4 separate regions of the Homo sapiens genome follow, and regions 1, 2 and 3 are each linked to region 4. The links are contacts of gene promoters, found by promoter capture Hi-C in human tissues and cell types (Jung and others, 2019). All regions are on one chromosome and are shown on one strand. Each heading gives the region's core, a stretch centred on a gene start or on the middle of the fragment in contact. The rest is flanking DNA. Distances are from core to core; before and after follow the strand shown. Region 1 holds the start of PTPRS (protein tyrosine phosphatase receptor type S). Region 2 has its middle 25 kb from the start of ZNRF4. Region 3 holds the start of ZNRF4 (zinc and ring finger 4). Region 4 holds the start of FEM1A (fem-1 homolog A).

What was found. Contacts are between HindIII fragments. The study calls those that stand out against the background at their distance.
Region 1: a contact is called between the fragment with the promoter of PTPRS here and the fragment with the promoter of FEM1A in region 4, in 2 of the 25 tissues and cell types used here (dorsolateral prefrontal cortex and lymphoblastoid cells).
Region 2: a fragment that was not itself captured here is called in contact with the fragment with the promoter of FEM1A in region 4 in 1 of the 25 tissues and cell types used here (lymphoblastoid cells).
Region 3: the fragment with the promoter of ZNRF4 here is called in contact with the fragment with the promoter of FEM1A in region 4 in 1 of the 25 tissues and cell types used here (lymphoblastoid cells).

The regions. Positions count from the first base shown.
Region 1 is chr19:5,339,532-5,342,231 of GRCh38, reverse strand. PTPRS (protein tyrosine phosphatase receptor type S) reads left to right here and starts at 1,420. Exons shown (of 38, transcript NM_002850.4): 1 at 1,420-1,568. RefSeq lists a silencer at 1,213-1,492. The HindIII fragment of the contact is 6,208 bases long and covers 1-2,700 here.
Region 2 is chr19:5,478,658-5,481,458 of GRCh38, reverse strand. No RefSeq gene overlaps it. Among named protein-coding and RNA genes, the nearest start is that of ZNRF4, 25 kb to the right of the region's middle. The HindIII fragment of the contact is 4,537 bases long and covers 1-2,801 here.
Region 3 is chr19:5,454,046-5,456,745 of GRCh38, reverse strand. ZNRF4 (zinc and ring finger 4) reads right to left here and starts at 1,329. Exons shown (of 1, transcript NM_181710.4): 1 at 1-1,329. The coding sequence starts at 1,254. The HindIII fragment of the contact is 14,927 bases long and covers 1-2,583 here.
Region 4 is chr19:4,790,245-4,793,001 of GRCh38, reverse strand. FEM1A (fem-1 homolog A) reads right to left here and starts at 1,268. Exons shown (of 1, transcript NM_018708.3): 1 at 1-1,268. The coding sequence starts at 1,147. It overlaps LOC124904620 (a long non-coding RNA gene), which reads left to right and starts at 1,710. Exons shown (of 2, transcript XR_007067103.1): 1 at 1,710-1,804. RefSeq lists enhancers at 1-300, 588-647, 301-957, 1,178-1,447, 958-1,615. The HindIII fragment of the contact is 32,697 bases long and covers 1-2,757 here.

The DNA of each region.
Region 1 (2,700 bases), core at 171-2,670, 550 kb before region 4:
CCTTAGGAGCAGGGGCTACCTTGCCCCATTTTACAGATGAGAGCTGAGATCCAGAGGCAAATCCATTCTACAGATGGGGAAAGTGAGGCTCCGGGCCTCACACAGCAAATCAGTGTTTTAGCTGGGTTCCAACTGTGGCTCGTCCTGACTCCAGGGAAGCAGGGGATGGTAATTAGGTGAGACCTGTGTAAAGTGCTTACTCTATAAGAAGTGCTCCATCATCCATTCATTCATGTGTTCAACCTACAATAGGGATCTCTGGAGCCACACTGTAGTGTAACTAGAATAAAAACGGGATAATGGGACCAGGCGCGGTGGCTCACGCCTGTAATCCCAGCACTTTGGGAGGCCGAGGTGGACGGATCACTGAGGTCAGGAGTTCAAGACCAGCCTGGCCAACATGGTGAAACACTGTCTCTAACAAAAATACAAAAATTAGCCAGGCGTGGTGACAGCACGCCTGTAATTCCAGCTACTCCGGAGGCTGAGACAGGAGAATAGCTTGAATCCAGGAGGCGGAGGTTACAGTGAGCCGCGATCACGCCACTGCATTCCAGCCTGGGCGACAGAGTGAGACTCCGACTCAAAACCAAACAAACAACAACAACAACAACAAACCGGGATAATGGGATAGAGTGGAGTGGGGCGTGGCTGGTAGCTGTTGTCAGGGAGGGCTTCTCCCAGGCGCTGCTTATTTGAGCAGAAATTGGAAAGATGAGAAGGGGAAGTTCTTGGATGCTCAAGTTAGAGGAACTGTAAGAAGCTGGCTGAGGCGGGAGGATCACCCGAGCCCAACTACTCAGGAGGCTGAGGCGGGAGGATCACCTGAGCCCAGGAGTTTGAAGCTGCAGTGAGCTATGATCATACCACTGTACTGAGGCCCAGGTGGCAGACCCCATCTCTGAAAAAGCAAAGAAGGAGCAGCTGGTTTTTCTGGATCATTGACATGGTGGGGGGGAGGGGACAGGGTAGTGGGCGCTAATGTGAAACGGCGAGCTGCAGAGAGGAGGCGGGATTTTATTCCAAGGGTACTGGGGAGCCGTGGCACAGTTTAGGGCAGCGCACAGAAAGTGCCATGCCCTTTGCACCCAGGACGCTGGGGCTCCCGCACGGACAGTAGCCCCAGGGGCCCTTCCCGCCGCCGCCGCAGCCGCCACCACCACCACCACCCCAGCCGCCCACGTGTCCCGCGAAGCCCCGCGCCCCACGTGCTCCCGCGGCCCTTTAAACACCCCGGAGCCACGTGACCGCGCTGCGCCGTCCCATTGGCCGGGGGGCGTGGCGGCCGCGCGGCTGCGCAGTGACGCGCACGGGCCGGCCCTGCCCCCGACCCGGCGGCGGCGGCGGCGGCGCTGGCGGAAGGGATGACGTCACCGGCTGGGGGGGCGCGCGAGCGGGAGCTAGGGGAGCGCGAGCCGCAGTGAGTGTCCTCGCGCCGCCCGCCCGGCAGCCCGGCCGGCGCGCGCACGCCGCGAGCCGCTGGCGCTCGGGCTCCGCTCGGATCCCATGCAACAGCCACGATGTGAAGCGGGGCAGAGCCGGGGGAGCCCAGCCCAGCCAGCCTCCAGGTAAAGCCAAAAAAAAAAATAAAATCATGGATTAGAGGAAAAAAAAATGCAGGCGCTCCAAGGGGGGTCTCGGAGGCAGCCGAGTGGGCAGCGCGCCGGCTTTGTGCCGGGGAAGCCTGCACGGCCATTGTGCTCGGAGGATGCTCGGCTGCAGCCAGTTGCACGCCCAGCCGCTGCGCCCCGGTAGCTGCGCCCGGACAATGCCCCGAGGGACAGGGCCGGGGCCGCGCTGGGGGCGCTCGGCAGGGGGTGCTGGGGGGGCTTCGTCCGCGGCGTGGGAGGGGGCTGGGCTGGAAGCGCCCAGAGCGCGGCATTGGAAGCTGCCCAGCGCCGCCGGCTGCACCACCCCGGGCTGCGGGCGGGGCAGAGGCGCGGAGGGGGGCGCGCGTGTGTGCGGAGCCGGTGCCGGCCCCGGCGGCGCCCGGCCCGGGTCCCCGGGCGGGTCCTGGAGGCAGGGGGCGCTGTGCCGGGGGATGGGGGGCATGCGGGCGCCCCGGAGCGGAGAGGAGCCGGGACGGGTGGCTCCAGGCGGGGTGGCTCCAGGGCTGCTGCGCCCGCCGCCTTCCCTCTCCGGGTCTCCCTCCCCTGGAGACCCCCTAGTCTACGCCGTCTCCCCTGGAACACTCCGGGCCCTGTCGTTGCCTTATGGGAGGTCGCCCCTCCGGCACTCGGGCATTGCCCCACCCTTCTGCGGCCTCGGCGCCCCCTTCCAGCCTCCCCACCCAGGGGCGAGCCTCAGCCCCCAGCCCCAGGGGCTCTGGCAGGCAGACGCGCACGCCCAGCACCCCAGTCTCCCCTCCGCGCTGGGGGCCCCGTGGGGATCCCGAGAGTGGGGAAGCCGCCCCTGGAACCGCCAGCCCCGCGGGTTCCGCACGCCCCGGGAGCCCCCGGGGGCTGCGGGGGGAGGGGAGGTGACGTCATACCGGGGGCGGGGCCGTCGGCACTGGGTTAAAGGGGGCGCGGGGCGTGCCCTGAGGGGAGCCCCCCAGGTTAGAGTGCCCGCGCCGTGGGTGCGAGGGTTCGGCCAGGTTGCGGCCAAGTTCACCTCTCTTTATGGGAATCTCTCCTAAAATTAAGATCCTCCCCTTCGGACCTCCCCCTACAAATCCTGGACATTTCCCACCAATTCCCC
Region 2 (2,801 bases), core at 217-2,716, 690 kb before region 4:
CACTCTGTCCAATATGGCAGTCACTAGCCATGGGTGGCTGTTTACATTAAATTAATTAAAATCAAACAAAATTTGATAGAAAGCAGAGTCTCAAAGAGATACTTGTACACTCACATTCATAGCAGCATGATTCACGATAGGCAAAAGCCAAAAACAACACAAGTGTTTCATCAGACGAATGGATGAGCAAAATGTGATCTATGCATAAAATGGAATATTACTCAGCCTTAAAAAGGAAGGAAATTCTGATACAGGCGATGACATTGATGAACCTTGAGGACATCACACTCAGTGAGAGAAGCCAGACACAAAAGAACAAATCTTGTGTGACTCCACTCCTAGGAGATCCCTAGAGTCATCAGATTCACAGAGACAGAACGTAGGATGGGGAGTGCCAGGGGCTGGGGAGGGGGGTGGGGAGTGAGTGTTTCATGGAGATGGAGTTTCAATTTGGGAAGATGAGAAAGTTTTGGAAATAGTGATGGAGTTTCTCCATGTTGGCCAGGCTGGTCTCGAACTCTTGACCTCAGGTGATCTACCCGCCTCGGCCTCCCAAAGTGCTGGGATTATGGGCGTGAACCTCTGCGCCCAGCCTTGATTTTCCTTTTAAAGTGCCAGGGGGTCTCTGGTTTACAGATCCCAGCCAATACCTGGACCTGGGAGAATTTAGTAACTGGGTTTTGTTTTCCCTGTGAATCCCACAACTGTTCTCTGAACAGCAGCCAGAGGGCGCCCGTGAGCACCTAAGTCAGATCTCGTCTCTCCTCTGCCCACAGCCCTCAATGGCTCCCACCTCCCTCAGGGTCAAAGCCCAAGTCCTCCCCGAGGCCTACCAGGCCCTGCACGACCTGCCCCAGCCCCTCCCTGCCCTCTCCTCCTCCTTGTCTCCCCCTCACTCACTCTGCTCCAGCCACATGGGCCTCCTCGTTGTTCCTCCAACACCCCAGGTGAGGTCCTGCCTCAGGGCCTTTGCACAGGCTGTGCCCTCTGCTGGCAAGCTGTTCCTTCCAAAAGCCATGTGGCAGCCTCCCTAGCCTCCTTTGTGTCTTTGCTTCAGTGTCTCCTCAGTGAAACCCTCATCTGCATCCTAACTGAAAGCTTCAAGCCCTACTCAGAATTGACAGCCCCCTCCACTTCTACCCTTCAGACAAGAGAGCCTGGGACTCCCTCAACAGTGCTCTGAAGCTAAGAGCCTAGGATATCCCGGCCTGCCCACGACCTTGTCCTCAGCCTGGCCTTTCCCCAGCTCGCTCTGCCCCTCCCTGCAGCAGTTCAGAAATTCGTCTGGCGCACAGATGCCAGGTGGGAAAATTAATTGGGCCTTCCTGGGGCTGCTCTCTCTGCTCCCCCGTCAATAACAGCCGTAAAGCGGGATTTATGCGGCCGCGCTGGCTCCTGATGGAAACTGGGAGGAGGGGCAAAACATTCTAGAAAAGTCAATCCCTCGCCCAGGGAGCCGCCGGTGGCTGGGGCTCTGGGACCAGAGCCATCTCCCTGCTGCCCTTCCCTGGGTTGGGTGGGCGGGGAGGGAGGACATCGTCCCGGCTCTCCCTGTCTCTGGTTGGGAATCACATATCTAATTATATCTCACATGTGGGCCGGGCACGGTGGCTCACGCCTGTAATCCCAGCACTTTGGGAGGCCGAGGCAGGCGGATCACTTGAGGCCAGGAGTTCAAGACCAGCTTGGGCAACATGGTGAAACCACGTCTCTACTAAAAATACAAAATGTTAGCCAGGCGTGGTGGCAGGTGCCTGTAATCCCAGCTACTGGGGAGGCTGAGGCAGGAGAATCGCTTGAACCTGGGAGGCAGAAGTTGCAGTAAGTTGAGATTGTGCCACTGCCCTCCAGCCTGGGTGACAGAGCAAGACTGTCTCAAAAATAATAATAATAATAATATTATATCCCACATGTATAAGCACCTGTTGTAGGCTAGGCTCCGTCCCATGTGTTTTTGGAACATCAACATATTTAAAATTGGGAGGCAGGAATTTTTATGTCCCTTTTACCAACAGGGAAACAGTGACACAGAGAGGTCAAGCAACTTGCTGAAGGTTGCACAGCGAGAAAGCAGCAGAGCTGGGATTCGAACCCCGGGCTGTTAGGCTCACATTTGACATTCTCGACCACTTAAGCACGGCCCACTGCAGCTTTTATATGTCTGGTATCTACATTGCAACCCCTCAAGGCTCCCAGAGTTGAGATGGTTGGGCTGAGTGTACCAGGAGGTGAGGGGTGCAGTTTGGATTTGAATCTCCATGGTGGTGGATGTTCTCTCTCATGTCTAAGACCGTTGTTACTGAAGGCCTCCTCTTTTCCTACTCTGGGTAAGAAAGGAGGGGACATCTGGGTGTCGCCAGCTTCCAAACTTTATTCTTATTTCTTTTCTTCTGAGCCAGTTGCTGTGGTTGCCACAGTTGTCCCTGGCTTAGGGGTTTGTGGGGACTAGCATGTGAAAGGATGATACAGGCAGTTGGGAAAGCCACAGTCACATCTTGATTTAACTGAGGGCTGCTGGCTACAGAGGATTTAACTGAGGGCTTCAGGAGCTATTGCATGAAGCCTGCTTGAAACTCTTACATCTGCTGATCCCTCTGGTGTCCGTTGCTTTTCCTTTCCTCTCCCTCCTCAGTAGAGGCTCTTCGAGGCACCCCTGGGGAGGTCATGTAGGATCTGAATTCAAATCCCAACTGTGCTGTGTGACCTTGGGGAAGCGTCTTCCCCTCTCTGGGCTCAGCATTCTTATCGGAAACCCGGGGCTAATAGCAGTAGGGTTGTGCAGGCACATGGAGCAGGCATAG
Region 3 (2,700 bases), core at 80-2,579, 660 kb before region 4:
AGTGGTATACTCTGCCTCCAGGGACGTGGTGCTGCAGTGGCAGTGGGGACTGGCGCGGCCCAGCAGCTCCAGCCTCCGGGAGCGTAGCTGGACTTGAATGGCCCAGATGGGGGGCCGGTGGCCCGGTAGGGAGGGGTCCTCGTCCCTGAAGCTGTAGGTGGTGGAGTCAAAGCTGTCTTCTGTGGCGGCCACCGACTGTTTGCACACGGGGCAGGAGCGCCGGGGGGCTTGGGAGAACCAGGGGTCAATGCATTTGCAGTGGTAGGTGTGGGAGCAGGGCAGGATCTTGAGTTGGTCGCCCTCCTCATACTCATCCAGGCAGATGGCACACAGGTCGTTGTGCCACGTGAAGGTGCGGACCTGGGCCTTCTGGCAGGTAGACGTCTTCACCGGCCGTCTGTGGCTGCAGCAGGCCTGGGCCCAGAGCCACAGGTGGTTCAGGACAAAGAAGGCTGATACGACCAGGGCCAGGGTACAGCCCAGCACCCAGGACACGGTCAGCACGGGGTGACAGCCCAGGTCGTGGCACGGTGGGTCGTCGGGCAGGAGCAGCGCGTGGGCCGACTTGTTGCAGCCCAGGATGACCCGCAGGTCCTGCGAGGCGGCCTCGCTCACGAACACTGAGGGGATGGCGATCTGGCCCCTCAAGTCCTCGTAGACGTGGGTCATGCTCACGAGGTCGTCGGAGTGGACGTTGTGCACGATGGCCGCCTCGAAGCCGGCGCGCTGGGCGTTCAGCACCTTGAGGTCGAAGGTGCAGTCGTAGCGGCGGATCAGCACGATGGCGCCCAGAGAGCGGTTGCCCAGTCGCGGGGCCTCGATGGGATGGCACGCGTTGGCTGGCTTGACCTCCATCAGGTAGCCCCGTATGCCCTCGGGGGCCAGGGGGACGCCGAACAGCGCCGGCAGATCCGCAAAGTCCACCGAGCTCGAGTTGTCTTCCAGCACGGCCCGTACCACTGCCTGCGCGGGCACCTGGAGCAGCGACAAGACCAGCAAGGCTTTGACTGCCACGAGGGCTCGGCCCGGCCGTGGCCACCCCATGGTCACCCGCTTCGCTGTCTGTGTGCTGCTAGGTCCCACTGGAGGCGGCAGGCATGAGGCCTTTGGGCATCTCCGGGGTCTCCCAGGGGGCCTGTGGCCAGGACGCGAGGGCAGTTGAGTTGGAATGACCGCGTGGCTCAGAGGCAGTGACGCGGCCACTGGGACCCTGCTGGCTCTAGGCATTAAGTGCTCCGGACGGCAGAGCGGCATGCGTCGTGTCTTTGAAGGCCGGTCTCAGGAGGTGCTGGCGCAGGTGGCCTTTCTGGCAGATGACATGGAGACCAGGAGTCACCAGGGTTCTAGATGCCCCCAGCTTCTGTGACATCGCCCTGCTACATTCTGTCCCAGGAGCTGCCAGCTGCCTGGGCCTGTGGCCAATGGATCATTCCTAGGTCTGTGATTTGCCGGTACCCGGGCAAGCTTTGAGATAACTTCTTGAAGGCTCAGGGTATCTTTGGACCCAAGGAGGCCCAGGGATGCTTCAAAAGGGCTGCCGGCCCCCAGCAGTGCAGATTCAGCCCTCACTGTGCGAAGACGCTACCAGCATCAGCTTCTGGAGGTTCCTAGCAACACACTGTAGAAGGTTCAATGTTACCCTTGTCTGAGACTCCAAGAGTGACCCAGACTTGTTCAAGCCACGCCCCCCTACAATGAGATCAGTGCTTAAAACCCAAATTCCTGACCCCCTGTCACCATCCCTCACTCTGCTCCAGCCACACAGATCTCCTTGCTGTTCCTCCAACACACCAGGCAGGATCCTGCCCCAGGGCCTTTGCATGGGCTGGGCCTCCTGCCTGGAAAGCCCTTTCTCTCCGTAGCTGGCTCTTTTATCCGGACTCAGGTCTGAGTCCATATATCCTCAGAGCCCTCCTGGACTTGATTTGGAGGGAGAGTCAAGTGCCAGGGTCAGGGTGGGGCTGGTGGGGGTCAGTGGTCCCAAGTCCGCACCGCCAGGTTGGCCTCCAGGCTTGCACCAGCTTCATTCTCTCTCCCTATAGCATTGCCTCTCCAGCTGGGTCTCCAACTGTGCCCCCTGCCTGAGCTTCAGCCCTGGGCATCAGCCTCACCTCCTCCCCAGTCCCCATCCCCCAAATTTCACACCCTCAATCTGTCTGCAGCCCACTCAAGTCGGATTTCTGTCTCTGCCATTCATAAGCTGTATGACATCAGCTAAATTCCTTAGCCTCTCTGGGCCTCAGCTTCCAGACCTGTAACATAGTCTTTCCCATGCTCTAAACTCTCCCATGGCTCCCCATTGCCCTCCAGATAAAGCCCACACTCTTCTCTGTGGCCTACATGCACCCCTGTGGTTGGGCGCCTGCCAATCTCTGAAGCCTGGATGATTTGCAATGTCCCAGAGGCATCTTGCTTTGTTCACCTCTAGAATTTTGCAAATGCTGTTCCCTCTGCCTGGAACAGAATTCTTGCTCCTCAACTTCACTTTGCCAGGCTGACTACTTAGTCTTTAGATTTTCTGTGTTGGCCTAATACCTCTCAGAGCAGCCCTCAGCCAGTGACAGATGGGAGGTGGTAGATAAATGCCCCCACTCCCTCGTCCCTCTTATGGGACAAATCGAAGTATGTTCTACCATATCTCCTAGAGGTCCCCAGTCGAATGAGCTCCATAAGTCAACGAACCCAGTACTGTCTTGTCAA
Region 4 (2,757 bases), core at 19-2,518:
CGAGGATGCGCTCCCGGATCAACAGGGCCTGCATGCGCATCTCATCCGGGTCGGTGATCAGCGCCTCCAGCTCCTCGGTGGTGTTGACCTCCCTGGAATAGTCATAGGCCAGGACCAGCTGTGGGGGCTCCGGTTTGGGCAGGTACTCGCCCCCCTGGTGACGCAGCTCCATGGCCCGCCTCCAGTGTTTAAGGGCCCCAAGCAGATCTCGTTTCTTATCCACATACGTAGCTCCCAGCAATTCCAAGGCTTCCACGGCAGCTTCCCGGCTGGTGGGACAGCAGCTTTCGTAAGATTCCCCGTTCAGTGGTTCCTCTGGGGAGGAGCTGCAGCACGGAGCCCCCTGAGGCTGCGCACACCCCTGGCTGGTGGAGGGGTCTTCTTGGGGCAGCCCAGGCTGAGCCTCTCCCCCTGCGACCTGCTCCTGGCCGGGCTGCTCCTGGATGAGGTACTCCACGATGTTGGTGTGGCCCGTCACGCTGGCCGCGAGCAGCGGGGTCATGCCGTAGCCGTCACGTTCCATGCGGGCCTTGCACCCCAGCAGCAGCTGCAGGATCTCCAGGCTGCCGGACTCGGCGCAGTCATGCAGGGCCGTGTTGCCCTTGGCGCTGCGCCGGTTCACCTGGGCGCCCTGCTCCAGCAGGTAGCGGGCGATCTCACGGTGGCCCTTGTAGCACGAGATCATGAGGCACGTGTGGCCGTGCCGGTTGGCCACCTCCAGGTCGGCCTGGTGCTCGCCGACCAGGTAGCGCACCACCTCCAGGTGGCCGTCGAAGCAGGCGGCGCGGAGAGGCGTGGAGTTGGTGCGCGTGGTGCGGTTCACCGAGGCCCCGCGGCGCAGCAGGCTCCGCACCACGTCCAGGTGGCCGGCTGCGGAGGCGGCCCACAGCGGCGGCGCGCCCTCGATGGTCTCGCCATCGAAGTGCACCGAGCCACCGGCCTCCACGCTCGCGCCGCACCGGTCCACCAGGTACTCCACCACGTCCAGGTGGCCGTAGCGGGCGGCGATGAGTAGCGGCGTTCCCCCGCCGGCCACCTCGCCCGTCAGCTCGTCCAGTTCCTCCCGGCTCCGGCCGCTGAGCAGCTTCTGGAGCAGCTGCAGCTTGCCATCACGGGCGGCGTTGTACACGGCGGTGCGGAGGTCCATGGTTCGGGCCTCCGCCAGGCCATGGGCCGGCCGCCGGGGGACGGGGAGACGGAGGATCAGAGCCCGGACGGGCGGGAGGCAACCTTCACCGTCCCCCTCGCCGCCATCTTAGGGTCTCCTCGGGCGGAACAAAATGGCTGCCGCGACCCGACGGATGGCAGCACGCCGGGAAATGGAGTCCTTTGCGCGGGCCCACTCCATAGAACAGAAAAGGAATCTTGGGGGCTCAAGACTACACTTCCCCAAAGGCCACAGGACAGCCCCTGAGAGCTGTGAGCGCGCGGCATGGTGGGAATTGGCGTTCCAGTCGCAGCGCATGGCATCGGAAGCTAGCAATTTGAGGACTACAATTCCCGTCATGCAGCGTCACACGACCTAGCTTGTGGGAACCGGCGAAATTTGGTGACGTACTTCCCGTGGCTATCTCTGCGTCAGAGCGTATAGAAAAAGCAGGCGCGATACCCTTAAGGACTACATTTCCCAAAAGGGATCACGAGCGACTCTGAGCCAATCAGGACCGAGACCGAAGGCTAAAAGCGACTAGAGGGGACGCGTCTGTTTTGGGCTTGGAGCACGGGCAAGCGGCCCACCGGCAGGGGGCGCCCGGAGGAGGCCGAAAAGCTGGACGGGGCGAAAACGTTTTGAGCTGGGAGAACGGTAAAAAATGACGCGCTCACTTCTTATTCTCACATTCATATATTCATTTATTCATTTACATACATTTATGTATATTCTAGTATGTGTCAGAATTTCCTTCTTTTATTTACGTATTTATTTTTATTTATTTCTTTCAATAACTTTGTGGGGTTTTTTGGTTTTGGTTTTTGTTTTTGAGACAGCGTCTCGCTCTTGTTGCCTAGGCTGGAGGGCAATGCCGCAATCTCGGCTCACTGCAACCTCTGCCTCCCGGGTTCAAGTGATTCTCGTGCCTCAGCCTCCCGAGTAGCTGGGACTACAGACATCCACCACCACGCCCGGCTAATTTTTGTATTTTTGGTAGAGACGGGTTTCGCCATGTTGGCCAGGATGGTCTCGAACTCCTGACCTTGGGAGATCCGCCCGCCTCAGCCTCCCAAAGTGCTAGAATTACAGGCGTGAGCCACTATGCCCGGCCTGACGTGCTGACTTCAATTCCTTTGGATAAAGACCCAGAAGTGGGATTCCTGGATCACCTGGTAGTTTTATTTTTAAATTTTTCTTTGGAACTTCCATACCATTTTCTATAATGGCTATACTAATTAAAATTACCATCAGTAGTGTATAAGTGTTCTCTTCAAATCCTTGCCAACGTTTGTTACCTTTCGTCTTTTTGATGATAGCTATTCTAGCAGTTGTAAGGTGATCCATTCCCTGGCATTTTTTGACAACAATGAATTATATTATGAAAAAGAAATCTTTGGTGACCCGAATTCTTTATTTTTAAAGTTTATTCGAGGTGTAATATATATACAATAAAATGCATTTTTAATAAAGAGGACAGGTTTGGCCGGGCAAGGTGACTCACACCTGTAATCTCAGCACTTTGGGAGGCTGAGGTGGGAGGATTGCTTGAACCCAGGAATTCGAGACCAGCCTGGGAAACATAGCACATCTCTACAAAAATAGAAAAA